Regions from separate parts of the Homo sapiens genome. Here regions 1, 2 and 4 are each linked to region 3. Evidence: promoter capture Hi-C in 16 types of primary human blood cells and fetal thymus (Javierre and others, 2016). All regions are on one chromosome and are shown on one strand. Each heading gives the region's core, a stretch centred on a gene start or on the middle of the fragment in contact. The rest is flanking DNA. Distances are from core to core; before and after follow the strand shown. Region 1 overlaps DTNB (dystrobrevin beta). Region 2 overlaps DTNB (dystrobrevin beta). Region 3 holds the start of DNMT3A (DNA methyltransferase 3 alpha). Region 4 overlaps DTNB (dystrobrevin beta).

Region 1 (3,031 bases), core at 26-2,525, 140 kb after region 3:
ATCTTAATCCAGGCTATAGATTATCTGAAGCAGCTTTCAAAAATGACAGGTATCATTTTGTGACTGGCAATCACAGCTGGCTACTTACAATAAAGCCTGCAGGTGTAACACAGCAAGCCTGAGGGGTAGGCCTCTACAGAGGTGGCTATGATTATTACTGCTCCCTTCTTTTAGTTTTTTCAAGCAATAAAACACTGTCCAGAAAGCCATGCTCCTTCTAATAGCCTCTAGCAGCCACATTCAGCTGTGGTCGCCCTCATGTACTCGGGTGACTTAGCGTGACAGAACTAGTAAATGATGAGAAGAATTCAGATGGGAAATGCTACTGAATGAGATGGTATTCTTATAATTAACAGGAAAACTATGACCTGAATTCTTTGAATCGGCCACCTTATCTGCCTGGTTTTGAAACGGAAACATCTTTGATCTGGAGTCTGGGTTTGAATGCTATGGGTGTTAAACATAAAAAACTGAAGTCCAAGGACAGCAAGGGTTATCGTAATATCTAGGTAGGTGGGACAGGCTTAATTGCTTTGTATTCGTCCATAAAAATTCCTTTCCTGCTTGAGAGGGCATTGCTGGTAAATTATTCTGTCTCTTCCTCACTTATTCTCACATTCCAGTTTATTTCCTAAGTCATAAAAATAATACATTAAATTCTCACATAAACCCCAAAAGGTAGATATTATTTTTGTCCCCATTTTAGAGATAAAAAATTGAAAACAAGGCCAGGTATGGTGGCTCGTGCCCGTAATCCAGCACTTTGGGAGTCTGAGGCAGTTGGATCACTTGAGATCAGGAGTTTGAGACCAGCTTGGCCAACATGGTGAAACCCAATCTCTACTGAAAAAAAAAAATACAAAAATTAGCTAGGTATGGTGGCAGGTGCCTGTAATTCCAGCTAGTCGGGAGGCTGAGGCAGGAGAATCGCTTGAACCTGGGAGGTGGAGGTTGCAGTGAGCTAAGATTGGGCCACTGCACTCCAGCCTGGGTGACAGACAGAGACAGTGTCTCCAAATTTAAAAAAAAAAAAAAAATGAAGACAAGAACATTTCAAGGTAAGCAAAGAGCCAGATTCCAACTCAGAAAGAGTCTGGCTCAAGAGTCCATGCTCTGGTGCCCTGTACCACTCAGCTCTGTCCAGAAGCAGTGGCCTGACTCTCTTGCTGCTGGAAAGTGCCCTAGCAAGGCTAAAGGCAAGTACTCTTACCTGGTCAGGTCCTGAGTCTCCATGCGGGTAATGTGTTATCAGGCCACTCTGATTTATTAAGTCCCTAACTTCTCTCTTCAGGGTAGTCCTACACTTTACTCGTTAGCTTCCTTGTCAGGCTATTGCCCAAACTTGCTTGATGATAAGAATCAGCTGGAATAAAAATGTAGCTTCTCAAGATCCTATCTTCAGAAATTCCAGTTCACTGGGTCTGATGTTGTCCCAGAAATCTGTTTTCAACAAGTGACCCAGGTGATTCTTCTCATCAGTCAGGTTTGATAAACACTGACGTAGGAGTTTTAGCCAATGGGAACAAACATCATTGTCTTAAGCACTATGTATTATATAGTCAAAATTTCTATAGCATTTCTATAGCTGAATTAATCCAAAGCAATCGGTACATATGGCACAAAATGTATTTTTTTCCAGGAAGGACTAGGGGGTGGGCTGGAATGTCTTTGTGGTTTTCTTGTTTCTGAGTGATGACTGTTAGAAAGAATTCTTTAATGGCCATGCCCTTGAGGGAGTTTTTGCATTGCTCTGGGTCATGGAACAGCTTATACCAAATAGAAAGCCATTTTATATAGTTCTTTTAAGTCCTGCCTGAGAGAATTTTTGGAGAAGAGCAAATTAAATAAAGAGGAGAAAGAAGTACACAGTTCTCATTCCTTGAAGGCCCCTAAAGCAAACTCCTTGCATAACCAAAAGAGAGAGACTCAGGCTTTCCAACTTAAATGTTTATAAATCATACACAGAATGATTCAGGAGAAAATTTTATAAGGGATTAATTCAATTTACACAGTCTAATCAAAGAGCAAAAATGATCTTTGACAAAGAATTCAAAGGCAAAACTGTTGAAACTCACGACTACCAAAATATTGTTTAAGGTTAAAAAAACGGATCTGAAACGTGCCTAATCTGCTCTGACACTGCCACCACTGCTTGTCACAAATGAAGTTTCCACCTGAGGCACCACTGAAAGCCAAACTTCAGTTGCTATATTTGTGAGTCGGTGGGGGAAAAAAGGAAAATAAAAAGTAGAAATTAAGACTAAAAGACGGTCAAAGGAAGAGAAAGCAAACCAGTCCTTTCTGCCCTGTGGAACAACCTGCTTTTCAGGCCTCATTTCTGGCAGGGGCATCGCAAATCAGTAGCAGAGGCCAACACCCAAGTCGAAGGCACAAGACATACGTACCTCTTGGTGGGAGTGGGCACTCCAGAGGACATGTGGCTAACCATGGTGTCATTCATATTAGTCAGAGGGCGAGGAGGACTGAAAGAAAAGACATTTACCTTATATTAATAATGACCAACTAGGGGAAACAAGGGAAACGACGATAAGCATGGTAAGAGCAAAGGGACCAATCATCATTCGCGGTAAGCACAGACGGACCCATGGGGAGGGGGGGGACCCATGGGGAAGGGGAGGCCCATGGGGAGGTGGGGACCCATGGAGGGGGGGAACCCTTGGGGAGGGGGGTAGAAATCGATACTTCAAGCCTAAGTAAATTCAGCAAGAGGTTCTCCCTCACAAAGCCACAGGGCCACTGAGCTGTGGGTACCAGAGATGCAACTGATTATAAGCACACTACTGCAGGACGTAACTTTGGTGGCTTTTGCTTTGTAGTTTTAGTACATAAGAATTTAAATTCTGCCCCTTAGTGAATTTCTCTACATTTTACGTACAAGATTACTAGGTGTCTGGCATTCATTGTATATTACAAAGGTCACAACATCGAGGTGCATGCTGTTCCTGAGATTTGGTTAGAGCTCACTGGTTTCCCTCAGACTTAGTTTGTAAACTTTTAACCAGAACAGACT
Region 2 (3,330 bases), core at 624-3,123, 240 kb after region 3:
TAAGAGATAAGTACCATTTTAACTCAAAGCAAAACAAAGATTTATGTCAAATTACTGGGAGGGACACCAAGAATAGTTTCAAGGCAAAATGGTGAAGGAAAAAAAATGAGGAAAAAAAAAGGGAACCCACTGTTAAATTATATCTTGGCTATTTTTCTTTAAATCATTCCAAAATAATTATAGTTTTAGCAGTTGATATAGCATATATACAGTTTTTTAGAGATATGAGTTTGATAAATCAAAGAGGAAGCAGGAAGTCATGGCTAAAAATCAGTTGGGCTCAAACAAGAAACAATCATCTGGAATCTTAGGGAGGAAAAGCCTATAGCTGAAGTTGTATGATCTGATATGACTACTATAGTATCCTTTCTTTTTTTTTTTTTTTTTTTTTTTTGAGACAGAGTCTCACTCTGTCACCCAGGCTGGATGCAGTGGTGCGATCTCAACTCATTGCAGCCTCCACCTCCCAGGTTCAAGCAATTCTCCTGCCTCAGCCTCCCAAGTAGCTGGGATTGCAGGCACCCACAACCACGCCCAGCTAATTTTTGTATTTTTAGTAGAAACAGGGTTTTGCCATGTTTGCCAGGCTGGCTGGAACTCCTGATCACAAGTGATCCACCCGCTTCGGCCTCCCAAAGTGCTGGAATTACAGGTGTGAGCCACCATGCCCAGCCTACTTCTTGGTATCCTTTTTAAAGTAATAAGTCTCTGCGAGATCAGCCTGGCCAGCATAGTGAAACCCCATCTCTACTAAAAAGATAAAAATTAACCAGGTGTGGTGGCCGGCACCTGTAATCCCAGCTACTCGGGAGGCTGAGGTGACAGAATTGCTTGAACTCGGAAGGTAGAGGTTGCAGTGAGCCAGGATTGCACCACAGCACTCCAGCCTGGGCAACAGAGTGAGACTCTGTCTCAAAAAAAAAAAAAAGTAATAAGTACCCTCCCTTTTTTAAAAAAAAATTCTTCTGAAAGCCAAAACCACAAAATGAAATGACAGAATGACAGCAAATGTCAACTGTAATTTTCAATGATATTAATAGCTAAGGACATTGCAAATAATCAGTTCCTATACTTTCTATAGCATGCGGAATTGAACAATAAAAGTTCTGCTTACCATTCTCAACATGGGCAAGCCTGTGCATGAGAGGTAGCCAGACAAGGCACTGGGGAGGAGGGTCAGCCATCATTGTGTCTAAAAACATATTTAGCATTATCTTTCTCTGTAAAGAGAAGAAAAACAAACATACTTTAAGTTTTTTAGGAATCTCCAAACTCCAAGTTTAATTTAGGATTTTTCCCATCCAAACTTTAGTGAATTACACGGTAAATTTTATAGCAAAATAAAATATTTTACATTACTACAGACACTACTACATGCTGTACTTTACACTACTACTATTAGTATATTCAAATGTATTCCCATATACATTATTTTATTTTAGTCAACTGTATAAGGTAAACTAGGTTAGACATTACTATATTCACTTTACAGATAAGCAAATAAACCATTTAAAAGTTTTGTAGTGGCCTGGCCCAAATCAGACACAAACCCAAGACTGTCCTTCAAGTCACCATTTCCGCTTTCCAGTGGGGAAGAGAAGACACCCCACACCCAAGTATAAGAGCAGGGACTGTGGCTGGTTGTCTACCATATTTCCAGCTCTCCTAACAGTGCCTGGCACACAAGATGCACTTAAGTAACTATTGAAAAGATAATAATAATAATTTAAAGGGCAAACACCTAGACATCATTTAACAACTTTCTCATTGACAGAAGAGAAAACAGAAGCTTAAAGTAGTTTAAATAATTTGACAACATCATAGAGATAGTTACGATAAGGATGAGATTGGAACCTACATGTCCAAATGCCCATCACAATGCTCCTGTTATACCATCTCCCTAGCTAGACTGCATTTTTCTGTTCTATCTTTATTTCTCTTTTTAACAAATATATAGTAAGCTTCCACTGTATATGAAACACTGAAAGAGTATGTCCCACTTAGACACCAAATTAGAAAGCAGTCTAGAAAGATAAGATAGAAATAGAGTTATATGATATAGAGAGAACAAATTCTCCACAATATTTCAAATTAATGAACTTTCTTTTTATTTTCTCCAGCCCACATGACACCTTTCCAGCTCCAAAGAAAAGGAAAAAGGAGCTGAAAGTCCAGGTCACACAACTCAACAAGATAGTTCCGTGATTGTAACCTGGACATGAAAATCTCACTTCAAATTGTTCCAAAAGAAGAGCCCAGACAACAGGGCACACACTCAGGAGGTGCATGGCCGTCGGCTGCCTCCTCCATGTCCTGATCCCACCATTCAGAGGCAGGGTGGTGGCTGGGGCGAAGCCAAAAGCACACCCAGAATTTCACCTTGGTCTCTCCCAAGTAACTGTTCTCAGTCCCACCACTTTCTTAATGTGAAGAACAGGATATAAAAAATATAGGTGTTTCCCCATAAAATGTTTAAATCATTTATTTCAAGGGGGGAAAAAAGGTAGAAAAGATAAAATTGGTTAGGGCTGACCTAAAGATATTGCTGGCTGATTACAAAATAACTCTGATTTTTACCACTAAAAATATATATATTTAACACAAACCGGAAGCGAGGAGTGAAGACACTGTGATGCTTGGCCTGAAGGACGGAGGCCCCCAGGGATGCCATCAGACCAACCACCGGAACCTCCCAACAAGAGTTCCTGTCTCATAAGGCTCAAGACTAGACAGACTTATTCCTCTGCATCTTTCTAGCGACTGGGAGAATCTTGATTCCAGTATACGTAAATTGGAGGTCATCTTATTGAGAATAATATTTAAAATAAGAAACTGCTTAATGGGGAATAGAAAAGGGAGGTAGAGTAGAAGGCACAGCAGGAAAGAAGCTGTGCAATAAAAATCTGGAAAAGATGAAGAAAGCTGAGGGACAATCTCATCTCCAGAAAGCCTGCAGGCCGGCAGGAAGTAGTTAAGTAATTGGACAGTTCCTCAATTTAACTTCTAATATGGAACTACTGGGGGGCGGGAGGAGCTGAGAACTACGCAAAAGGGCTGACAGAATGATTGGCGGTATGGAGCTGTCATTCAAAGGGCCTCTACACATCATGAGCACTGATGGTGAAGCATGAGAAGTACCTACCCAAATAGGCTAAATAAAGGTTACCCTAAGTGTTTTCCATCTCAGGATCCAAGAATACTATTGTTTGAGACCTTGGTGGGATCTGGGAGGAACCAGTGAATAACATTAAAAACCATAAAGCCACCTAATATTTGAATGCAGGAACAGATATGGAAAATGCCTCTATGGACATGCAAATAACCAACAAA
Region 3 (3,092 bases), core at 254-2,753:
AGTTTGGCAGCCCCAGGGCCGCGGGCCCCAGCGATGAGGGGCTGGGGGAGGCCAGGGGCGGGCCCTGGACCCGCGCCAGCCCGGTCCGCGCCGAAGGGGAGGGAAGGCAGGGCGGCCTGGGGGAGGGGAACTGGGGTGAGGGCGGGACACGGACAGCCGCCGCCTGCGGCTCCGAAGCTCGAGGTCTCCCGGGGTGCGGGGACGTGGGGCCGAAGACCCCGCTCCGCAGCCGCGGCGAGGCCTCGTCCTTCACTGTGCAGATGCGAAGCTTTCAAGGACACGTCTGCACCGGCCCGGCGGGGTGCGTGTGCGTGAGTGTGTCCGCGTGCGTGGGAGTGTGCGCGGGGGTGCTGGAGGGGCGACCCCGGGCGTACCCCCCCTGCGCCGCTCCCGGTCCCGGCCCCGCTACTTCCACCCCCGCGTTTTCCGGCCCCCGCGGCCCGGGCCCGGGCCCGGGATCCTCGCCCGCCCCCGCCCCGCCCCCACATTGCGGCGCCGCCACCGCGGCCGCCCGGGCACCCACGGCCCGCGGTGGGGACAGGGAGGAGCCGGGCACGACCACCCCTCTCCGTGCCGCCGGCACTCCGGGGGAAGGTGTGCCCCCAAGGCGGGCGCTCTCCCCGGCCCCGCCGCCCCTCCCGGCCCCGCCGGCGCCCCGCACCCCCAGCCACAGGTGGCCGGAGGAGGATCGCGGCGCGGCGCTCCCCGGCCCGGCCCCGCCATCACCCCTCGGCCCGCCCCCGGGGGCCTCCCGGGTCCCCCGCCCCGCGGGGCCGAGGAGGGCCGGGCGCCGGGGGGAGGGGCGGGGGGCCGGGTCGTGCCAGGCTGCCATTTTCTGCCGCCGCCGCGGAGCCTGCGCGGGGCCCGGCCCCCGCCCCCTCCCCCGCTCCCCCGGGCCGCCGCGGGGGCCGATCCTTCTGGGTCGGGGTCCGCGCCCTCCGGCGCCCTGGCCGCGGGCTCCAGGCGGGGCCGCGGGGCTGGGGCAGAGCCCGGAAGGCGGGGGCGGCCCGGCCGGGGCCCCTGCGGCAGCGGCGAGCCGGGCACCGCGGCGCAGGCCGGCGGTGGAGGGGCCCCCCGCGGCATTGTATAGACTTGAACTTGAGCCCGGAGCCGGGCGGGGGCGGGGAGGGGGGTCCGCGCCGGGAGCGGGCGGGACGGGAGGGGGCGCCTGCCGAGCCCGCGGGGACATAAACAAACCCTCAAATCCCCCGCGCCGCCCCGGCCAGCCCGGCCCGCCGTCCCCGCCTGCAGTCCCGGCCCCACGGGCGCCCGGCGCCGAGTTGCAGGGGTCCGGGAGCGTGCCCCGAGCCGGGCACTGCCAGCCGCGGCGCCCCCCGCCCGGCTCCCCGGCTCCCCGCCGCCTCCGGGCCGGCCTTCCGGGCCGCCAGCAGCGGCGCTCATTACCGTATGGCCGGTGGGGTCGGGCCGGCCCGGCTGCGCGCCCTGGTGCCGCGGCGCCGCGTCCCGGCTCGTCCTCTGCTCTCGCCGCCGCCGCCGCCCGCGCGCCCTCCCTCCCTCCCGGCCCGCCTGCCTGCCTCGCTCGCTCGCTCCCTCCCTCCGCTCGCTGTCGCGCTCCCTCTCTCCGCCTCCTCCGCCGGGTCCCCCCCTCCCACCCCTTCTCTCCGCCTTCCTCCTTCCCTCCCTCCGGCCGCCCGCGGGCCCAGGCCTCCGCCCGCCGCTCGCCCCCCGCGGCCGCGCTGGCCCCGGCCCCGGCGCTGCGGAGCCGGCCCGGGAGGCAGCGCCGACTGGGGGGCCCCGGGGCGCCGCGGCGGGAGCGGCCTGGGCGCGCGGCCGGTCCTAGCGCCCTCGGCGCGACTTCCCGGCCTCTGCGGCCCCGCCGGGGTCCCCGCACGCCGCTTGGCGGAGGTCTGGACCCCGCACCGCCCAGACCGGGGGCCGGGCCCCGGGCGCCCCGCCTCGGCCGCGCTCCCGGCCACTCAGAGCCCCTCGAGTCGTAGCCGAGCTCCGGGCCTCGCCGCAGCCCTCCCCACGCTGGGCGCCCCGCTACCTGGCGCTGCTTCTGCGCTGGGTCCCCGCATCCAGCACTGGCCGCAGGGACAGCGGCCCCTCCTCTCCCCGGGCCGGTGTCAAGTGCCTCCCCCCGCAGCCCGCGGAGCCCCCGGCGGCCTTCGCCCTGCAGTTCTCCCGACCTCCGCCAGAGCCCACTGCGCTCTGCCTGCCTCAGCACTGGGGCTGGGGACAGCAGCGCTGGCCCAACCGCGCCGCAACCCCCAGCCAGGTGCCGCCGCGGAGTAGAGGCCACTCTGCTCTACAGGGCCAAGGTCGGAGCGCCAGGCTCCTCCTGGCCGTCCCGCAGGCTCCAAAGCCTCTCTGAGATGAGCTGCCTTGAAGGGAGTGAGTTCCCCGTACCTTGAGGTGTCCAAGTAGAGTTGGGTGTCCTCAGTTGGGCACTGGAAGACTGAAAGATTTCATGAGGTGGGAGGTTGAATGAAATGACATTGAAGGTCTCTTCCAGCTGGAAGATTCTGTGTGTGCCTACACACCGCCCTCACCCCTTCACCGTGGGGGCTGTTCTCCTTCCCCATGGAGCGCTCAGGGCTCTAGGTTCCTGACTTGGGGCACCTCTGTCTAATTCCACCAGCACAGCCACTCACTATGTGCTCATCTCACTCCTCCAGCAGCCGCTGTAGGACTTGGGGCTGGGCACCCCCCCACCCCCGCCTCCAGCCTCCTTGCGCGCCCCAGCACCCCACCAGCCACCCGCAGCTCTGCACCCCGAATTCTACTCAGCACTTCAGCTATATCACAGTGCCCTGAGCTCCCTGACTGGCACAGGACATGGCGTGCTCCCTTCCCAGGGACCCGCCATCCTACTTGTGGGCAGGGATTGCTGGAGTTGGTGGTGGGACTCACTTCACAGTGAAGCGGATCCTACTTTTCCCTTCTCCCCATGCAGCCCAGCACCCGCCCCCCCAACGCCACCCTTTTAGCGTCACAGAACCGAGTTGCCAAGTTCTCTGGGACCGGGAGCTGACCTTTCATACAGACGGGAAGGTTTTCCTTCGGGAGGTTCTCCAATGCTTCCAGGTCCCTCCGTCTCCCCAACCCCCACCCTGAGCCTCGATATCTGA
Region 4 (3,186 bases), core at 402-2,901, 160 kb after region 3:
GCAAAACTATTAGAGTTAATAGACAAGTTCAGCAAAGCTGCAGGACACAAGATCAATATTACAAAATTCAATTGTATTTCTAGATATTAACAGTGATCTGAAAATGAAATTAAGAAAAGAGGCCGGGCACAGTGGCTCACGCCTGTAATCCTAGCACTTTGGGAGGCTGAGGTGGGCGGATCACGAGGTCAGGAGATCGAGACCATCCTGGCTAACACGGTGAAACCCCATCTCTACTAAAAACAATACAAAAAATTAGCTGGGCGTGGTGGCGGGCACCTGTAGTCCCAGCTACTGGGGAGGCTGAGGCAGGAGAATGACGTGAACCCTGGAGGTGGAGCTTGCAGTGAGCTGAGATGGCACCACTGAGCTCCAGCCTGGGCGACACAGCAAGACTCTGTCTCAAAAAAAAGAAAAAAAAAAACAGTTTTATTTACAATAGCATAAAAAATATGTAGAAATAAATTTAGCCTGGCTGGGCGCAGTGGCTCACGCCTGTAATCCCAGCACTCTGGGAGGCCGAAGTGGGCAGATCACCTGAGGTTGGGAATTCGAGACCAGTCTGGCCAACATGGTGAAACCCTGTCTCTACTAAAAATACAAAAATTAGCTGGGAGCAGTGGCACATGCCTGTAATCCTAGCTACCTGGGAGGCTGAAGCACAAGAATTGCTTGAACCCGGCAGGCAGAGTTTGCATTGAGCCAAGATCGCACCACTACACTCTAGCCTGGGTGACAGAGAGAAAGGAAGGACGGACGGATGGACAGATGGAAGGAAGGAAAGAAAGAAGGAAAGAAAGAAAGAAGGGAAGAAAGAAAGAAGGAAGGAAGGAAGGAGGAAGGAAGGAGGGAGGGAGAGAAGGAAAGAAAGAAGGAAAGAAGGAAGGAAGGAAAGAAAGAAAAGAAAGAAGGAAAGAAAGAAGGAAAGAGAGAAGGAAAGAAAGGAAGGAAGGAAGGAAGGAAAGAAGGAAAGACAAGAAAGAAGGAAAGAAGGAAAGGCAAGAAAGAAGGAAAGAAGGAAAGGCAAGAAAGAAGGCAAGGCAGAAAGAAAGAAAGAAAGAAAGAAAAGAAAAGAAAGAGAAAGAAGGAAAGGAAGGAAGGAAAAGATGGAAGGAAGGAAGGAAGAAAGGAAGGAAAAGAAAGAAAGAAATTTAACCAAAGTGTGAAGCTTGTATACTGAAAATTATAAAACATCATTGAAAGAAAGAACACCTAAATAAATGGAAAGATTTCACATGTTCATAGATTTCATATTGCTAAGATAGCAATATTCCCCAAATAGATCTATTGATTCAGTACAATTCCTAACAAAATCACAAAATACCTTTTTGCAAAACTTGATGAGCTGACTCTAAATGCACATGGAAACGCAACAGACATAGCCCAAAAAGCGTCTTCCAAAAGAAGAACAAATTTAGAGACACAAACTTTCCAATTTCAAACTTACTACTAACTTTCAAAGTGGGTTAGTTTGCTTCAGGTCCAAAGGTTCAGAGATATTCATAAATTGCCCATTACTCTCTCCAGTGACAAATAATTCATAATTGATATCTGAAATGATTGGCTTTGAAAAAGTTTCTAAGCCTAAATACTGTATAATGATTGACTGATAGATCATGGATCCTCTCTAAGTAACTATCCAAACTGGCATCCACGTCACTGCTATGAGCTCACTCCACACCCCACCTGTCTGCATTGGAGTACCCCAGGTGGAAGTACAGCTGACAATGACACTCTTCCAGCCTCTCCACTCAAGGCCTCCTCTGTCACGATTTCTCTCACATGTCCATACAAAGGTTGGGGACAATGATAAATGGATGCCTTCACAGGAAGCTGAAGAATGCCACTGTAGACAGAGCTGAACTTGATGACGTGTTAGAAGGAGTCATCAAACTCCTTCTAACTTGATGACGTGTTAGAAGGAGTCTAGGGTATTTTTCATTTTGAAGGTGGTAAACTTTTGCATCCAGCAGCATTTTAGTACTTTTTCATTTGTACCCACATCAACAAGATATATGTCTTGATTTATTTAGAATTCTAAAGGTTTACATGGTTGAGTTAGTTTTTAGAGATCCTTTCTTGGGAAAGATCAACTTATATTTGGGGTTTGCTTGCTCCATTAAAAAAAACATCAAAAGCTTGCTGTCACTTGTACTTCTCCTACTAAACCTTATTTCTCTCTTTCCTCCTACAACTACTGATAAAATTTAAAAGCACAAAAATTTAGAAATACAGCTTTATTTCAGTTTCATGACTCAATTTCATCCAAAGTCTTTAAATGCATCTTTGACGTCAATGTCTTCATCATCGCTAAAGGTTCTGAGTCAAAGGTTCTGAGTCAGCACACAGTTCTCCACAGGACATCATCTTTACTTCTATATCAATTATTTAGAAATAATTTCTCTGTATGCCCTCAATGGAAAGACAATGTGGTATACTACTTGGTGGTAAAAAGAATGAAATCCTGGCATTTGAAGCAACATGGATGGAACTGAAGATTATATGTTAACTGAAATAAGCCAGACACAGACAAATATCACATATTCTCAGTCATAGGTGGGAGCTAAAAATGTTGATCCCATACAGGTAGAGAGTAGAATGATGGTCACCCAGAGGCTGAGAAGGGTGTGTGAGGGTGGGGAAGGATGAAGAGAGGTTGGTTAATGGGTACAAACACAGAGTTAGATGGGAGGAACAAGTTCCAATGTTCAACAGCAGAGCAGGGGGGTGACTATAGTTAACAATAATGTATTGTATATTTCAAAATAGAAAAGAGAACTTGAAATGTTCCCAACACACAGCAATGATAAATATTCAAGGTGACGGATACCCTAAATACCGAGTTGTTTTTTTTTTAACTTTTAAGTTCATGAGTACACGTGCAGGATGTGTGGGTTTGTCATACAGGTAAACATGTTTCATGGGGGTTTGTTGTACAGATGATTTCATCACCCAGGTATTAAGCTTGGTATCCATTAGTTATTTTTCCTGATCCTCTCCTTCCTCCCACCCTCCACTCTCCAACAGACACTGGTGTGTGTTGTTTCCCTCTATGTGTCCATGTGTTCTCAGCATTCAGCTCCCAGTTATAAGTGAGAACATGAGGAAATACCCTGACTTGATCACCGCACATTCTATGCACTTAGCAAAATATCACATGTATTCCATAAAAATGTACAAATATTA

The links. The method cuts DNA at HindIII sites, captures the fragments that hold promoters and counts their contacts. A CHiCAGO score of 5 or more calls a contact.
Region 1: a fragment that was not itself captured here is called in contact with the fragment with the promoter of DNMT3A in region 3 in 1 of 17 cell types (M1 macrophages); the score reaches 5.2 in M1 macrophages.
Region 2: a fragment that was not itself captured here is called in contact with the fragment with the promoter of DNMT3A in region 3 in 4 of 17 cell types (M2 macrophages, M1 macrophages, megakaryocytes and 1 more); the score reaches 8.1 in M2 macrophages.
Region 4: a fragment that was not itself captured here is called in contact with the fragment with the promoter of DNMT3A in region 3 in 2 of 17 cell types (naive B cells and M1 macrophages); the score reaches 7.2 in naive B cells.

Annotation. Positions count from the first base shown.
Region 1 is chr2:25,480,391-25,483,421 of GRCh38, forward strand. It overlaps DTNB (dystrobrevin beta), which reads right to left. Exons shown (of 21, transcript NM_021907.5): 10 at 2,406-2,483. Among named protein-coding and RNA genes, the nearest start is that of DTNB-AS1, 61 kb to the left of the region's middle. The HindIII fragment of the contact is 3,990 bases long and covers 1-3,031 here.
Region 2 is chr2:25,579,607-25,582,936 of GRCh38, forward strand. DTNB (dystrobrevin beta) reads right to left here. Exons shown (of 21, transcript NM_021907.5): 7 at 1,115-1,220. Among named protein-coding and RNA genes, the nearest start is that of DTNB, 92 kb to the right of the region's middle. The HindIII fragment of the contact is 172 bases long and covers 1,788-1,959 here.
Region 3 is chr2:25,340,422-25,343,513 of GRCh38, forward strand. DNMT3A (DNA methyltransferase 3 alpha) reads right to left here and starts at 1,504. Exons shown (of 23, transcript NM_022552.5): 1 at 1,405-1,504. RefSeq lists silencers at 227-346, 627-866, 967-1,136, 1,427-1,636, 1,697-2,176 and an enhancer at 2,297-2,416. The HindIII fragment of the contact is 8,821 bases long and covers 267-3,092 here.
Region 4 is chr2:25,503,513-25,506,698 of GRCh38, forward strand. The region is part of intron 9 of DTNB (dystrobrevin beta); the gene reads right to left. Among named protein-coding and RNA genes, the nearest start is that of DTNB-AS1, 84 kb to the left of the region's middle. The HindIII fragment of the contact is 970 bases long and covers 1,167-2,136 here.